3 separate regions of the Homo sapiens genome follow, and regions 1 and 3 are each linked to region 2. The links are contacts of gene promoters, found by promoter capture Hi-C in human tissues and cell types (Jung and others, 2019). All regions are on one chromosome and are shown on one strand. The core of a region is centred on a gene start or on the middle of the fragment in contact, and the rest is flanking DNA. Distances in the headings are between cores, read along the strand shown.

The links. Contacts are between HindIII fragments. The study calls those that stand out against the background at their distance.
Region 1: a fragment that was not itself captured here is called in contact with the fragment with the promoter of GMIP in region 2 in 1 of the 25 tissues and cell types used here (liver).
Region 3: a contact is called between a fragment that was not itself captured here and the fragment with the promoter of GMIP in region 2, in 2 of the 25 tissues and cell types used here (dorsolateral prefrontal cortex and liver).

Annotation. Positions count from the first base shown.
Region 1 is chr19:19,852,097-19,857,055 of GRCh38, reverse strand. It overlaps the pseudogene BNIP3P9. Among named protein-coding and RNA genes, the nearest start is that of ZNF253, 11 kb to the left of the region's middle. The HindIII fragment of the contact is 3,965 bases long and covers 1-3,845 here.
Region 2 is chr19:19,640,072-19,644,954 of GRCh38, reverse strand. GMIP (GEM interacting protein) reads left to right here and starts at 1,298. Exons shown (of 21, transcript NM_016573.4): 1 at 1,298-1,444; 2 at 2,336-2,420; 3 at 2,904-2,979; 4 at 3,088-3,145; 5 at 4,384-4,509; 6 at 4,595-4,659; 7 at 4,763-4,870. The coding sequence starts at 1,426. RefSeq lists a silencer at 1,205-1,454 and enhancers at 2,085-2,244, 1,466-2,421. The HindIII fragment of the contact is 23,421 bases long and covers 1-3,405 here.
Region 3 is chr19:19,873,469-19,878,108 of GRCh38, reverse strand. All of the region lies in intron 1 of ZNF253 (zinc finger protein 253), which reads right to left. Among named protein-coding and RNA genes, the nearest start is that of ZNF253, 9.9 kb to the right of the region's middle. The HindIII fragment of the contact is 9,890 bases long and covers 1-4,640 here.

The DNA.
Region 1 (4,959 bases), core at 614-3,113, 210 kb before region 2:
CTGAAACACTAATCACATTCTCATGATTGTGAAGGTGTAATTCTACCCAGGAGGCCTGCAGGCTCTCCTCCTGCAGCTCAGGCCTCACTCTCTGATGTGACACTAGAGTGCTGCTGTGGCAAATGGGGTTCATATAAAATGTGAGCTGTGCTCCAGGCTGTGCCTCAGTGGCAGATGTTATAGGTCAAGAGAGGACACTAGGCTGGGCGCGGTGGCTCACGCCTGTAATCCCAGCACTTTGGGAGGCCAAGACGGGCGGATCACGAGGTCAGGAGATGGAGACCATCCTGGCTAATATGGTGAAACCCCGTCTCTACTAAAAATACAAAAAATTAGCCAGGCCAGGCATGGTGGCAGGCACCTGTAGTCCCAGCTACTCGGGAGGCTGAGGCAGGAGAATGGCATGAACCCAGGAGGCGGAGCTTGGAGTGAGCTGAGATTGCGCCACTGCACTCCAGCCTGGGCGACAGAGGAAGACTCCGTCTCAAAAAAAAAAAAAAAAAGAGGCCACTAGTAACCAGGAGAAAGCAAGCAGGAGTGCTGTAACCCAATGCCAGGGAGTACAGAGCCACTGCTCTAAAATGTAAATAGCCAAAAAGATAGAACCCTATTCAACCATTTTTGTAGCACAATGAAAGCCTACCTTCAGAAGGCACCTGGATTAAAGCTACTAAACTACTTCCTGTTATGAAGATGTGAAAAGTTTGTCATTGAATATAAGCAATTAGCATACACAGATGGCCTCTTCAATCTGTTCATAGGATGAACTATGTATGACATGGCGCTGGAAATTCTTCTATTTGTGAACTAATTATGGTGACCATCTTTCTGTCTTTGCGATCCCTTAAGCAGACTGATGATGATGCATGTCACAATTAAGTTCAATTGTGTAATAAAACCATTTTCTTTCTGTGCTACTTTTGTGGAGTTTCTCTGGGGCTGGAGAAAATTTTTCTTTTAATCATTTCCAAACACTGTCTAGAATTACCAGACATGATAAAAACACATAAGGTGCCAACCAGAATTTACTCTAGAGGGGACTTTTCCTCTCAGGCTTCCAGTCAACTCACATTTGCACTTCAAAATGCATGCTGTCCCCTAAATATGGAGGCAGAATTGTGTCTCTTCCTATTTGGTATCTATAGTCCTCTAGAGTCACTTCTAGAGAGGCTAGACCACATTTCTACAAACTTCACAGGGCAACAATCAATCATTTTACCTCTATCAATGACTCTTGTATCTTCAGGCCTGAAACTGATACAAAAACTATTTAGCCCAGAAACCCAATCACAGTAACATGTGCATTAGTAGACATAGAGACATGAGAATCTCCACGTTCCCCTTTCTCCTCTTGCTAAAGTGCTCACAAATGTTCAGGTAACATCTGCTGCTGCTCCAGTCCTTCAGCCCCTAAATCTGCAGCTCCAAATTTTGAATTTAGGTCTTGAGATTTGGGAAATAAAAAACTTTTATCTAAAAAATGCAAGTCCTTTGGTTATCAAACTCAGAGACATGAAAATGAAAGTGCAGTTATTTCTCCCTCCTTTGAACTATGTATTCATCTCTTGAAACTGTTCACGATTGCCAAAAGTAGCTATAAATTAAACTAATAATGACACGTTGGACACTATATCCCATATCCTAAACCATAACTATATATATCTAATCAATAATAAATGCTATTTCTCTAAATACATAAAAATTTCTGACAAACAACTTTGTGTCTACCTACTCTGTTCTTCTCTTGTTATCTTTACAAATCCTCTTGTAACTGATGCCAATCAAAGTGTAGATTCCAGACAACTTGAATCTTTGCTCCCAGATTATAATCCTTCAGCTTGACCCAAATAAACTGTCTACTTATATTGATGTTGTGTCAGCTTTTTTTTTTTATTTCATGTAGACTTATCATTTAGAATGTGCTAGAGGAGCCTCTATGAGGGGATCTCTCCTCGGATTGTACTCCACTTGCTGTAACACCAAAGGATGCAGAGCCAGGTGGATCCTACCTAGAATCTGCAGATAAGGTCTGGCCTCTGCCTGGGATTTACAAAAAAGGGCTGGTCTTTGGATTGTGAATGTACAGAGAACTAACAAATGGCATTTTCTGCCTTGTGAGATGTCAGCAAAGACAGCTTACAGCCCCCATTTGGGAATGTGGCTCTGTGAGATGTTTCACATCTTGTTCATTGACCTGCTACAGTGATGTGAGAGGTTCCAGGAGGAAATAGAATCTGATGGCAGAATCTGTAAGTGTAAATAAGCATCTTTGGAGTGAGAGATCAAGGCCACAAAGTATCCAGAGCCATGACCACAACTATATTTACCTGTAAAATGTGATACTGGAGTAGAGTATTTTTGTTCTTTCTTTTACCCAAGAGCTAGCAAATCAGAACGGGTGATCCAAGTTCTGGAGCTCCACCAGTGCAGTTCCATTTTCTATTTAGAAACAGCCCGAGTCTGCAGCCTGGCTTATCATTGGGCCATCAGCCCAATGATATCTAATAATCTCACAATAACCTAGGTGTCTTTGAGGCATTTGAGGATGTCCAGAACAGAATTGTGTCAGGTTGACAAAAATGGTTAATTCTGCTTCTGTCTCAGTGTAAGAGAAATGAGTCATCTGTGTTTGTTCCTCCCCTCATACAAGAGGTGTCTTTGGTTGGTACCCAGATGAGAGTTTATCCAGTTTCCTGGTACTTGGATGATAAACAAGGAGGAGATCTGGAGACCCGAATAGATAAACTAGTTGCTTCCATCTCATATGGCCATTAAAAAAAAAACCATGAAGTAGTCATGGTTCCTACAACCCAGAAGCTTTTAGTCTAGACTAGCAACCAGATAAATAATTGGATTATGCATCATATGGTTGGTACAATAAATAGATGTGTCCAAAATCTTAAGCTTTATTTGGGCCACTTCCTTTATATTGTTGTGATTTCTGACATCTACACATAAGGGATATTTATGAACAGAGGAATTGTTATTCTAATTACTTTTTAATTTTTGAGATAAAGTCTCACTCTGTCACCCATTCTGGAGTGCAGTGGCACAATCTCGACTCACCGCAAGCTCTGCCATTCAGATTCAAGTGATACTCCTGTCTCAGCCTCCTGAGTAGCTGGGATTACAGATGCCTGCCACCACGCCCAACTAATTTTTATATTTTTAGTAGAGACAAGGGTTCACCATCTTGGTCAGGCTGGTCTTGAACTCCTGACCTCGTGTTCCACCAACCTTGGCCACCCAAAGTGCTGGGATTACAGGTATGAGCCACAGTGCCGGCCATATAATTTCTATTTATTTTACTTTGTTAAGTGTACGTATTTATTTTTTAATAAAATTACCCTAGGAAACCATAAGGGATTTGTTTAAATTGCATATTAGTATATAGTATAAAGTTGACAGGACAGTGGCTAGAAAATATTAAAATTAGAGAAACTCTGGGATTTAAGTTTCTTTTAGGTTAGCTTAGAAAAAACAAAACTGGAAGTACCCTAATGGTATAGAGAACAGAATTCTACATAGGGGCCTTGCCCTGCCCCAGACCTGTTCAGATTTATCCTTTTTGGAGGCCTTATTTAGGTCTGACTCTACCTTGGAGTCTGGCCTCACAGAACTGATTAGAAGAGATCAGAGTTTTGGCTGGTGAATCCTGCTGCCTTTCTAGAAGTGGTGTTCACAATTTCCTGGAACACAAAAACATAAACAGGAAAAACAAAGTGTGTATTTTAGGGTCATATTTTATAAATTCTCTATTAAAACCAGTGCGTGCAGAGTCATTTAGCAACTTGTTTTCTCTTCCTGCAGATCCAGTAGTTATTCCACAAGTCACAAAAAAGTAAACGTAAACAGAATAAAATTTAAACTATGTTAAACTCTTCCTTTCTATGTCTCCTTCATCTGCCTATATTTAGCTTTTACTCTTTACAGTTTTTTAAAAATTTTGATGACAGAGAAACAGAAGAAGAAAAAATGCTGGGCCCTTTATCTAAATCCTGGAAATTATTAAACACTTAGTGCCAGCTCCCAAGGTGTTTCGAGGATTAAATCACATAACGTGTTAGGCCCAGCACAGTGCTTTCTATCATGCTCTTGAGCACATAGTACCTGCCTAATAAATAGTGCATTAGTACATGTGTACATGTTGTTTTTTTGTTTTTTTTTTTGGAGATGGAGTCTCACTCTGTCACCCTAGGCTGCAGTGCAGTGGTGCAATCTCAGCTCACTGCAACCTCCGCCTCCTGAGTTCAAGCAATTCTGCCTCAGCCTCCCGAGTGGCTGGATTACAGGCACGCGCCACCATGCCCAGCTAATTTTTGTATTTTTAGTAGAGACGGGGTTTCACCATGTTGGCCAGGATGGGCTCGATCTCTTGACTTTGTGATCTACCCGCCTTGGCCTCCCAAAGTGCTGAAATTACAGGTGTGAGCCACAGAGCCCGACCCATGTTGTTCTTTAAATACAGAATTATTGAGACATTGCTGCCTTCTGTTTTCTCTGTAAACTTTAAAGAGCCAGCAAAGAATATAAAACTTTAGGATGGACATGCATTGTCCTTATTTGTACCAGAAATATTAGGTTGTGACAAGAGTGCTGAGTGTAAGCAACCCTGTGCTGTTCCTGCTTCTCTAACTAATGCTAACAATGAGCCCAGGGGGAACAACATCAGCATTGACAGGGAACTTGTTTAAAACACCCATTCATGGACCCTTTTCAGTCCTCCAGAATCACACTACATAAAGCAGGGCCAAAATTACCAAGTGATATATAAGCTCATTAAAGCTTGAGAGGCAATGCTTAGCTTAGTGGTTATCAGCCCAGGCTTCTCATTAGGATCACATGGCCAATTAGCGGAAATGTCCTGTGCCCTCCCCACAGCTTCTGTTTATTGTCCTGGGTGGAAGGATCCATGTTGTTTTAATGAAGGGCCTCATGTGACTCTAAGGTAAGGCCAGA
Region 2 (4,883 bases), core at 49-2,548:
AAGCCTTAGGATGTGTGATATTTTTTTCTTTCCCATAATACATAACAGCATGCCTTTCTCTCGGGTGGTGTCTGAGACTTGAGGAATATGATCTGCATCATTACAAGTATTGACTCTGTCCGGTGGCTCAAGCCTGTAATCCCAGCACTTTGGGAGGCCAAGGCGGGCCCATCACAAGGTCAGGAGATCGAGACCATCCTGGCTAACACAGTGAAACCCCATCTCTACTAAAAATACAAAAAATTAGCCAGGCATGGTGGCGAGTGCCTGTAGTCCCAGTTACTCGGGAGGCTGAGGCAGGAGAATGGCGTGAACCCAGGAGGTGGAGCTTGCAGTGAGCCGAGATAACGCCACTGCACTCCAGCCTGGGCAACAGAGCGAGACTCCAACTCAAAAGAAAAACAAACAAGTACTGACTCTGTCATGCTCTTTGGGGGCCTGCGCTGCTCTACCATCTCATGTCACAGTCAGGGAGCTCTGGCTGAGCATCAGCCAGGATGTGACCTGGAAACCTGGCTTGGCTCTTAGGTTGATAGTGTTATTCCTTTCAATGGACTCACTCATCACAACTCAAGAACTGCAGAGTAGGCAGCACGGAGCCAGTCAGAGAATCCTTGCCTCCTTAACAGCCAAAGCCTTTGGACACAAAGTTATAAACATACTTTAAAGTCTATTTCCAGCCCCAAAATTCCACTGTGCTGGGGGTGGGAGCATTTTTATAACAGGCGGCTTGTGGCAACCCCAGAGCTGGTGCTTTTGGACAAACCTCCACTCCCTACCTAAAAGGGCTGCTCCCTGGTGTGCTGTAATTGGGGCCTTGAGCCTGATCCAGCTTTGAGGGTCACGGAAGGGGCGTCCCCCAGGCCAGGGGTTCTCCAGCCCGAGTATTAGAATTTTGGTTGGAATCGGACAGAATATCAGGCCTCCACCAGGGGGCGCCATGGCTCCAGCGAGGCCCAGGTGGTTTCAGGGCTCCGAGAGACAACCTGGGCAAGGGGATCACCAGGGTCGCGGGTTGTGGGAGCTCCTGGGAGAGGCCCCCCGGGACAGGTGGACTCTGCAACCATTCAGGGAGGAGGGGGCTGGGGCTCCGTGGGATTTGGGGTAGCACAAAGATCTGAGAGGGAACCTATGGCCCAGATGAAGTCTTAGGATGCCCAGGTCAGGGGCACTGCAGCCTCGAGTGGTCGCTCAGGGGGCCCTGGCCCGACCCAGTTTCAAGCGGCTCAGGTAGAGAAGGGCACTATCAAGGCTTCCGGGCTACGGGGGCGTGGTCTGATGCGGGGGCGTGGCCTCCGCTGGGCAGGGCGACGCGGAACCGAGGCGGCGGCGGCGGCTGCGGCGGCAGGAAATCGGGGCTCGGCCCCGCCGGCGCGCGACCCCATCCCCATCCCGGTCCCTGCAGAGCGATCCCCGGGCCCAGATATGGACGCAGCAGAGCCGGGTAGGGGGTCGGGGATCCGGGAGGGGCCTCCCCCGACCATCCCCTGCTTCCTACATTGAGGGCACACACTTGTCCCGCTCCGTCCTGAGAGCCAGGAGAGGAGTTCCTGAATGGGAAGGACCCAGGGATCCTCCATTGTGGGGAGCCCTGTGCCCGGATGGGTTCAGGACCCCAGCCCTTCACTCCCCCTCCCCCTTTTGATCCCTCACCCCAGACGCCTGGGGGAGGGGGCCCAGGAAGGGGAAGTGACTGCTTCTGCTTCTGATTTTTGTGATGGGGGCAGGGTGCCACGACTGCTGAGGGAGAGGGCAACGCGGTAGGATCCCCACAGGGCCCCTCTGTAGCCCTGGGGAGTCGGCAGTGCTGGTCTAGGCCCCTTAGGAGAGGGGGCAGGGGGGCAGCAGTAGAAATGTGGCGGGGTCCGACTTGGTGTTTCCGGCCGTCTTTGTGTCTGTGTTGTGTATGTGGAGTGTCATTCGGTCTTTATGTCCCTCACGGCTTCAGTCTCTCCATGTGTGTTTCTGCCCCAGGCTCTGCCTGGCTGTCCCTTGTGTATTTCCATCTGTCTAGCCCGTGGTTCCATTGTCAGACCGGCTTTCTTCTCGGGACAGCCTGGTTGCATCTGGGGCATCTGTTTTGTTGGTTTGCTTCTGGGTGCAGGCAGACCCAGGGAGTGGGTGTCTCTGTTCCCCGAGCAGCTGTCTCTGGTCTCTGGTGGTGTGTGAGTCCATCTGCCTGCCTCGAGTTGGCCCCAACCAAGCCCCCCCCAGCCCTCTCTTTCTCTCTCTCACTCTTCCCTTTCTCTTCCACCCCCTCCAAATGAGACTGGTTGAGGTGCCGTGGGTGGAGGGAGGCAGTGGTTAGCCCATGTATTACACTCCCCTCCCCTAGGACTCCCCCCAGGTCCTGAGGGCAGGAAGAGGTACAGTGACATCTTCCGGAGCCTGGACAACCTCGAAATCTCACTGGGGAACGTGTGAGTCTGAGCCTGGATCACCCCCAAATCCTGCCAAGATGCCCCAAGCCCCTAACCATTTAGGTGCCTTGCAGTCCCATTTGGAACCTGTAACATCTGGACCTACATACCTAATAACCAGAGAAGTCTAGGATGGGACCCTCCAAAATGCCTCGGTATCCTAAAAGTGTCCCCCTAAATAGACTGGAAATCCCCAAAGTGGTCCTAGAACCCCTACATATCCTTGTAACCCCTTAAAATATTTGCGATCCCTATAATCCCACTCTATGAACCTCAAAGTTATCTGGGGCCCTTCAGATGCTTTTTCAAGTCCTATTTAAAAAAAACTCACCTGATTCCCCCAAAACACCATTCTTCAGACCTCCCAGACACAAGAGATGCCACAGAGGTGATGTTTGCCACAAACAACCCTAAGGTCCCCAGCACCCCTTGGCAGGACAGACTGGGTGTAAGGTGGCATCCTGACACACCTTTATCCCCCAGGACCCTTGAGATGCTGGCTGGAGACCCTCTACTCTCAGAAGACCCAGAACCTGACAAGACCCCTACAGCCACTGTTGTGAGTGGGGAGTAGGGGAACAGGGAGGAAGACCTCAAGCAGAGGGGGCCTTAGGAAGGCCAGGCCCCTGCCCTGTTTGCTTCTGAATACTGTCTCCCTCCCGCACAGACCAACGAAGCCAGCTGTTGGAGCGGCCCCTCCCCAGAGGGTCCTGTACCCCTCACAGGTAGGGGGGTCTGGAGGCCAGGACAGTGGGGACAGACAGGAGTCTTTCCTTCAACAAATCACCACTGATCCCCTGTTCCATGCAAGGCATCGTTTAGGTTTTGGGAATATGGCAGTACACACAACAGATCTCAGTCCCAGCCCTCAGGGAGACCCCAGGCAGGGTGGAGGCTGAGGTAGGAGGATCACTTGAAGCCAGGAATTCGTGACCATGCTGGGCAACAGTAAGACACCATCCCTACCAAAAGAAAAAATATTTTTTTAATTAGCTGGGTGTGGTGGTGTGTGCCTGTAGTCCCAGCTACTTTGGAAGCTGAGGCTGGAGGACTGATTAAGCCCAGGACTTTGAGGCTGCAGTGAGATACGATTGTGCCACTGCACTCCAGCCTGGATGACAGAGCAAGACCATGTCCAAAAAAATCAAACACAAGGCCGGACGCAGTGGCTCACGCCTGTAATCCCAGCACTTTGGAGGCTGAGGCGGGTGGACCACGAGGTCAGGAGATCGAGACCATCCTGGCTAACATGGTGAAACCCCATCTCTACTAAAAATACAAAAAAATTTAGCCGGGCGCAGTGGCGAGTGCCTGTAGTCCCAGATACTCGGGAGGCTGAGGCAGGAGAATGGCGGGAACCCAGGAGGCGGAGCTTGCAGTGAGGCAAAATAGGGCCATTGCACTCCAGCCTGAGCGACAGAGCGAGACTCCGCCTCAAAAATAAAAATAAAAAAACCCATCAAACACAGGCCGGGCACGGTGGCTCATGCCTGTAATCCCAGCACTTTGGGAGGCCGAGGCGGGCAGATCACCTGAGATTGGGAGTTCGAGACCAGCCTGACCAACATAGAGAAACCTCGTCTCTACTAAAAATACAAAAAATTAGCCGGGCATGGTGGCGCATGCCTGTAATCCCAGCTACTCAGGAGGCTGAGGCAGGAGAATCGCTTGAACCCGGGAGGCAGAGGTTTTGGTGAGCCAAAATCGCGCCATTGCACTCTAGCCTGGGCAACAAGAGCGAAACACAGTCTCAAAAATAAATAAATAAATAATAAAATAATAAAAAATAAAAAACAAAAAACAGTGAATCTGTAAAATTGCAACCAGGACAAGTGATCCCAAAGTAGTGTTTGGGGAGCTGTGAGGCTGTAGGACAGGTGCCACTGGGCTGGTCTGGGGGCTTAGGGAAGACATCCATAGCAGACTAGGGTGCAAAGGTCAGAGGTCCATCCATCTTCCCCAGGGGAGGAACTGGACTTGCGGCTCATTCGGACAAAGGGGGGTGTGGACGCAGCCCTGGAATATGCCAAGACCTGGAGCCGCTATGCCAAGGAACTGCTTGCCTGGACTGAAAAGAGAGCCAGCTATGGTGAGGACCTCTTCCGCCCAGCCCCAGTTACCAGGCAGTCCCCAGACCCCAGCTAGACCCAGAGCCCGGCTCTCTCTTCCCCCAGAGCTGGAGTTTGCTAAGAGCACCATGAAGATCGCTGAAGCTGGCAAGGTGTCCATTCAACAGCAGGTAGTCATGACCAGACCCCCCCGGAGAGCCCAAGCCCCCTAGAACCCCACCTTTGTCCCCCACAGATCTTCAGTATCCTCCTACACCACTCTGTCTTCCCCAGAGCCACATGCCTCTGCAGTACATCTACACCCTGTTTCTGGAGCACGATCTCAGCCTGGGAACCCTGGCCATGGAGACAGTGGCCCAGCAGAAAAGAGACTACTACCAGGTGAGGGGGGCAG
Region 3 (4,640 bases), core at 976-3,475, 230 kb before region 2:
TAAGCTGAAGACCTTGTTGTGCAGGGTTTTTTTTTATTCCGGAAGATCTGGCATAAAGTCTGACTTTTTGAATTTCTGACAAGCTCATCTCTAATGCGAATGTTTTTGGCCCAAGAACGGTATTTTGTCAAACATTGAGTAAATGGAAGAGCCTGTGTTTTTCCCAGTTTTTCTGGCCTGTAAACAAAGATAAGAGCCTTCATTTTCCAAAGAAAAATATGTAGCAAAAAAGAGAAGAAAGGATAGACGCCAGATTAAGTGTGATGGTTTATGCACATCAGCTGCATAAAAATACTTAATGAAGAGAGAAATAATTAACTCTATTGTAAAAAAAAATCTGTCAGAGAGCTATGTCACCAAGTGAATCATTAACCCTTAACTGCACTAGGACAAATTTTTATGATGTGCTAATTCACACAGAAGAACACAGCATCGGCCAGGCATGGTGGCTCACGCCTGTAATTTCAGCACTTTGGGAGGCCGAGATGGGTGGGTCACCTGAGGTCGGGAGTTCGAGACCAGCCTGACCAACATGGAGAAACCCCGTCTCTATTGATAATACAAAATTAGCTGGGCGTTGTGGCACATGCCTGTAATCCCAGCTACTCAGGAGGCTGAGGCAAGAGAATTGCTTGAACCTGGGAGGCAGATGTTGCAGTGAGCCAAGATTGCACCATTGCACTCCAGCCTGGGCAATGAGAGTGAAACTCTTCTTAAAAAAAAAAAAAGAAGAAGAAGAAGAACACAGCATCACTGTTGAAATATTCCTCCCAAAGAAAGTAAATAAAATCTGAATTTAACCATAAAGAAACATGTTTTATGCTAACTTCAAAATATAGATAACTCCTATGTTCTGTAACTTTTAGTAGGAATTTTAAGTAGGCTTCATTTAGCTCCCTAGAGAGCAGGTACCTTAATTTTCTTTCAGAACTTTCTGGGTAATAACTGCCATCCCTTTTAAATAAGCATTTCCCTAATCCTATTCTGCATAGAGCTAATGGAACACACAGATGGAGCCTCAACATTACATGTTCTCCATCTTTACTAAGGACCACAGTTTTCCCCAATAGAAATCTTGAGTATCCACGTCTTTCCATGTTCAACAGCCACGAAGGGAACATTTTTAATATTGCAGATTATAAAGTCTTGCTGAGAATCCTGCATGGCATATAAGAAGCTATGATGCAGCAAATGTAGAGAAGGCTCTAAGGTATAGAAAATAAATATTTTACAGAGACTCTTGACTATCATAAGAATTTTAAGAAGTACTTAAACCAAACTCATTAAAAAAAAAGCAAAAGTAGAGAAGTAAAAGTTTGTGAGTACTAAATGCATAGCATTCGAGGAGGCAGAGTGAATACAGCTCTTGATCTGAAACAGAAAAGCCACTTTTCCCTCTCTTGCTTCTCTGGAATTCCTTCTCAGACGAGATTCTCTGTACAAATTACACCCGTATCTTGATAATATGCCCTTAAAAGTGTCAGCACCACCTGTTTACCTGCTAGCATGACATCAAATGGCAGAAAGAAAAAAAACACAGAAAAAGTCCACCCTTTTCTGTCCTTTAAAACAGAAGAGATTCAGGAACAATGAGCTGCTTCATGAAGATAAAAATATAAGTTTCTCCTTTCCTGTCCTCAGGTGCCCTCCCCTGCCACAGACACCAGCAATTTTTGCTACAGTAATGGAAATATGTGCCACACTGACCTATCCCTACCAAACCCAAACAGAACAGGCCCTGTGACCACCCTTTAGTGCAAAGGTGGAACTTAACTCTCATGAATGAGAGCACTGCCTGTAAAGTTTTAATGAGCTTATAAATCACTTGATAATTTTGACTCCACTTTATGTAATATGATTCTGCAGGTTTGAAAAGGGTCCATAAATGGGTGTTTTAAACAAGTTCTCTGTCAATGCTGATGTTGCTCCCCCTGGGCTCATTGTTAGCATTAGTTAGAGAAGCAGGCACAGCACAGGGTCGCTTACACTCAGCACTCTTGTCACAACCAAATACTTCTGGTACAAATAAAGACAACCCAACTCCATCCTAAAGTTTTATATTCTTTGCTGGCTCTTTAAAGTTTACAGAAGAAACAGAAAGCAGCAATGTCTGAATAAGTCTATATTTAAAAAACAACATGTACACATGTACTAATGCAATGTTTATTAATGAGGTACAATGTGCTCAAGAATATGATACAGAGCACTGTGCTGGGCATAACACATTATGTGATTTAGTTCTCATAATACCCTGGAAGCTGGTACTAAGGGTTTAATAATTTCCAGGATTTAGATAAAGGGCCCAGCATTTTTATTTCTTCCTCTGTTTCTCCATCATCAACTTTTTAAAAAAATTACATAGAATAAAAGCTAAATGTAGACAGATTTCAAGATAAAGAAAGAAAGAGTTTAATGGCTGGGCGCGGTGGCTCACGCCTGTAATTCCAGCACTTTGGGAGGCCGAGGCGGGCGGATCACGAGGTCAGGAGATCGAGACCATCCTGGCTAACACGGTGAAACCCCGTCTCTACTAAAAATACAAAAAATTAGCCGGGCGTGGTGGTGGGTGCCCGTAGTTCCAGCTACTTGGGAGGCTGAGGCAGGAGAATGGCGTGAACCCAGGAGGCAGAGCTTGCAGTGAGCCGAGATCCACCACTGCACTCCAGCCTGGGCGACAGAGAGACACTCCATCTCAAAAAAGAAAGAAAGAAAGAAAGAGTTTAATGTAGTTTAGAGAAAATTTTATTCTGTTTATATTTACTTCTTTTTTTGTGACTTGAGGAGCAACTACTGGATCTGCAGGAATAGAAACCAAGTTGCTAAATAGAATGTCTCTGTTAGCACTGGATTCATAGAAAACTTAAAAACTAACACCCTCTAATACATACTTTGTTTTTCTGATTTATCTGCTTTTGAGTTTCAGTAAATTCTAAGCACCAGCTCTAGAAAGGCAGCAGGATTCACCAGCCAAAACTCTGATCTCTTCTGATCAGTTCTGTGAGGCAAGACTCCAGGATAGAGGCAGACCTAAATAAGGCCTCCAAAAAGGGTGAATCTTAACAGACCTAGGATAGGGTGAGAACCCTATGTAGAATTCTGTTCTCTATGCCACTAGGGTACTTCCAGTTTTGTTTTTTCTAAGCTTATCTAAAAGAAACTTAAATCTCAGAGTTTCTGTAATTTGTTTGTTTGTTTGTTTGAGATGGAGTCTCTCTGTCGCCCAGGCTGGAGTGCAGTGGCGCGATCTCGGCTAACTGCAAACTCCGCCTCCCGGGTTCACGCCATTCTCCTGCCTCAGCCTCCCAAGTAGCTGGGACTACAGGCGCCCACCACCACGCCCGGCTAATTTTTTTGTATTTTTAGTAGAGACGGGGTTTCACCGTGTTAGCCAGGATGGTCTCGATCTCCTGACCTCGTGATCCACCTGCCTCGGCCTCCCAAAGTGCTGGGATTACAGGCGTGAGCCACTGCGCCCGGCCTGTTTCTGTAATTTTTATATTTTCTAGCCACCGCCCTGTCAACTTTATACTATACACTACTATGCAATTTAAACAAATCCCCAAAGGTTTTCTAGGGTAATTTTTATTTTCTTTTTGGAGCTCTGTCGCCCAGGCTGGAGCGCACTGGCATGATCTTGGCTCACTGCAACCTCCGCCTCCTAGGTTCAAGCTGTTCTTTTGACTCATCCTCCCGAGTAGCTGAAACTACAAGCGTGTGCCGCCATGCCTAGCTAATTTTTGTATTTTTAGTAAAGACAGCGTTTCACCATAATGGCCAGTCTGGTTTGGAACGCCTGACCTTGTGATCTGCCCGCTTCGGCCTCCCAAAGTGCTAAAATTACAGGTGTGAGGCACTGCACCAGGCCTTCCTAGGCTAATTTTATTAGAAAATAAATATGTGGCTGGGCGCGGTGGCTCCTGCCTGTAATCCCAGCACTTTGGGAGGCCGAGGCGGGCAGACCACCTGAGGTCAGGAGTTAAAGACCAGCCTGACCATCATGGTGAAACCCTATCTCTACTAAAAATACAAAAAATTAGCTGGGCATGGTGGTGGGCACCTGTAATCCCGGACACTCTGGAGGCTGAGACAGGAGTATCACTTGAACCCGGGAGGCCGAGGTTTCAGTTAGCTGAGATCCCGCCATTGCACTCCATCCTGGGCGACAGAGACTCTATCTCAAAAAACCAAAAATTAATTATAATAACAATTCTTCTGTTCATGAATATCCCTACAGGTGTAGACATCACAAGTCACAACAATATAAAGAAAGTGGTCTAAATAAAGCCCAAGATTTTGGACACATCTATTTATTGCACCAACCATATGACACATAATTCAATTATTTATCCAGTAGCTAATCTAGACTAAAAGTTTCTGGATTGTAGGAACCATGACTGCTTCATTTTTTTTAATGGTTATATGAGATGTAAGGAAATACTTTATCTATTTGGGTCTCCAGATCTCATCCTTGTTTCATTCAAGCACCAGAAACTGGAGAAACTCTCATCTTGGTACCAACCAAAGAAACCTCTTGTATGAGAGGATGAACAAACACAGGATGACTCATTTCTCTTACACTGAGACAGAAGCAGAATTAACCACACTTTTCAGCCTGACACAATTCTGCTCTGGACATCCTC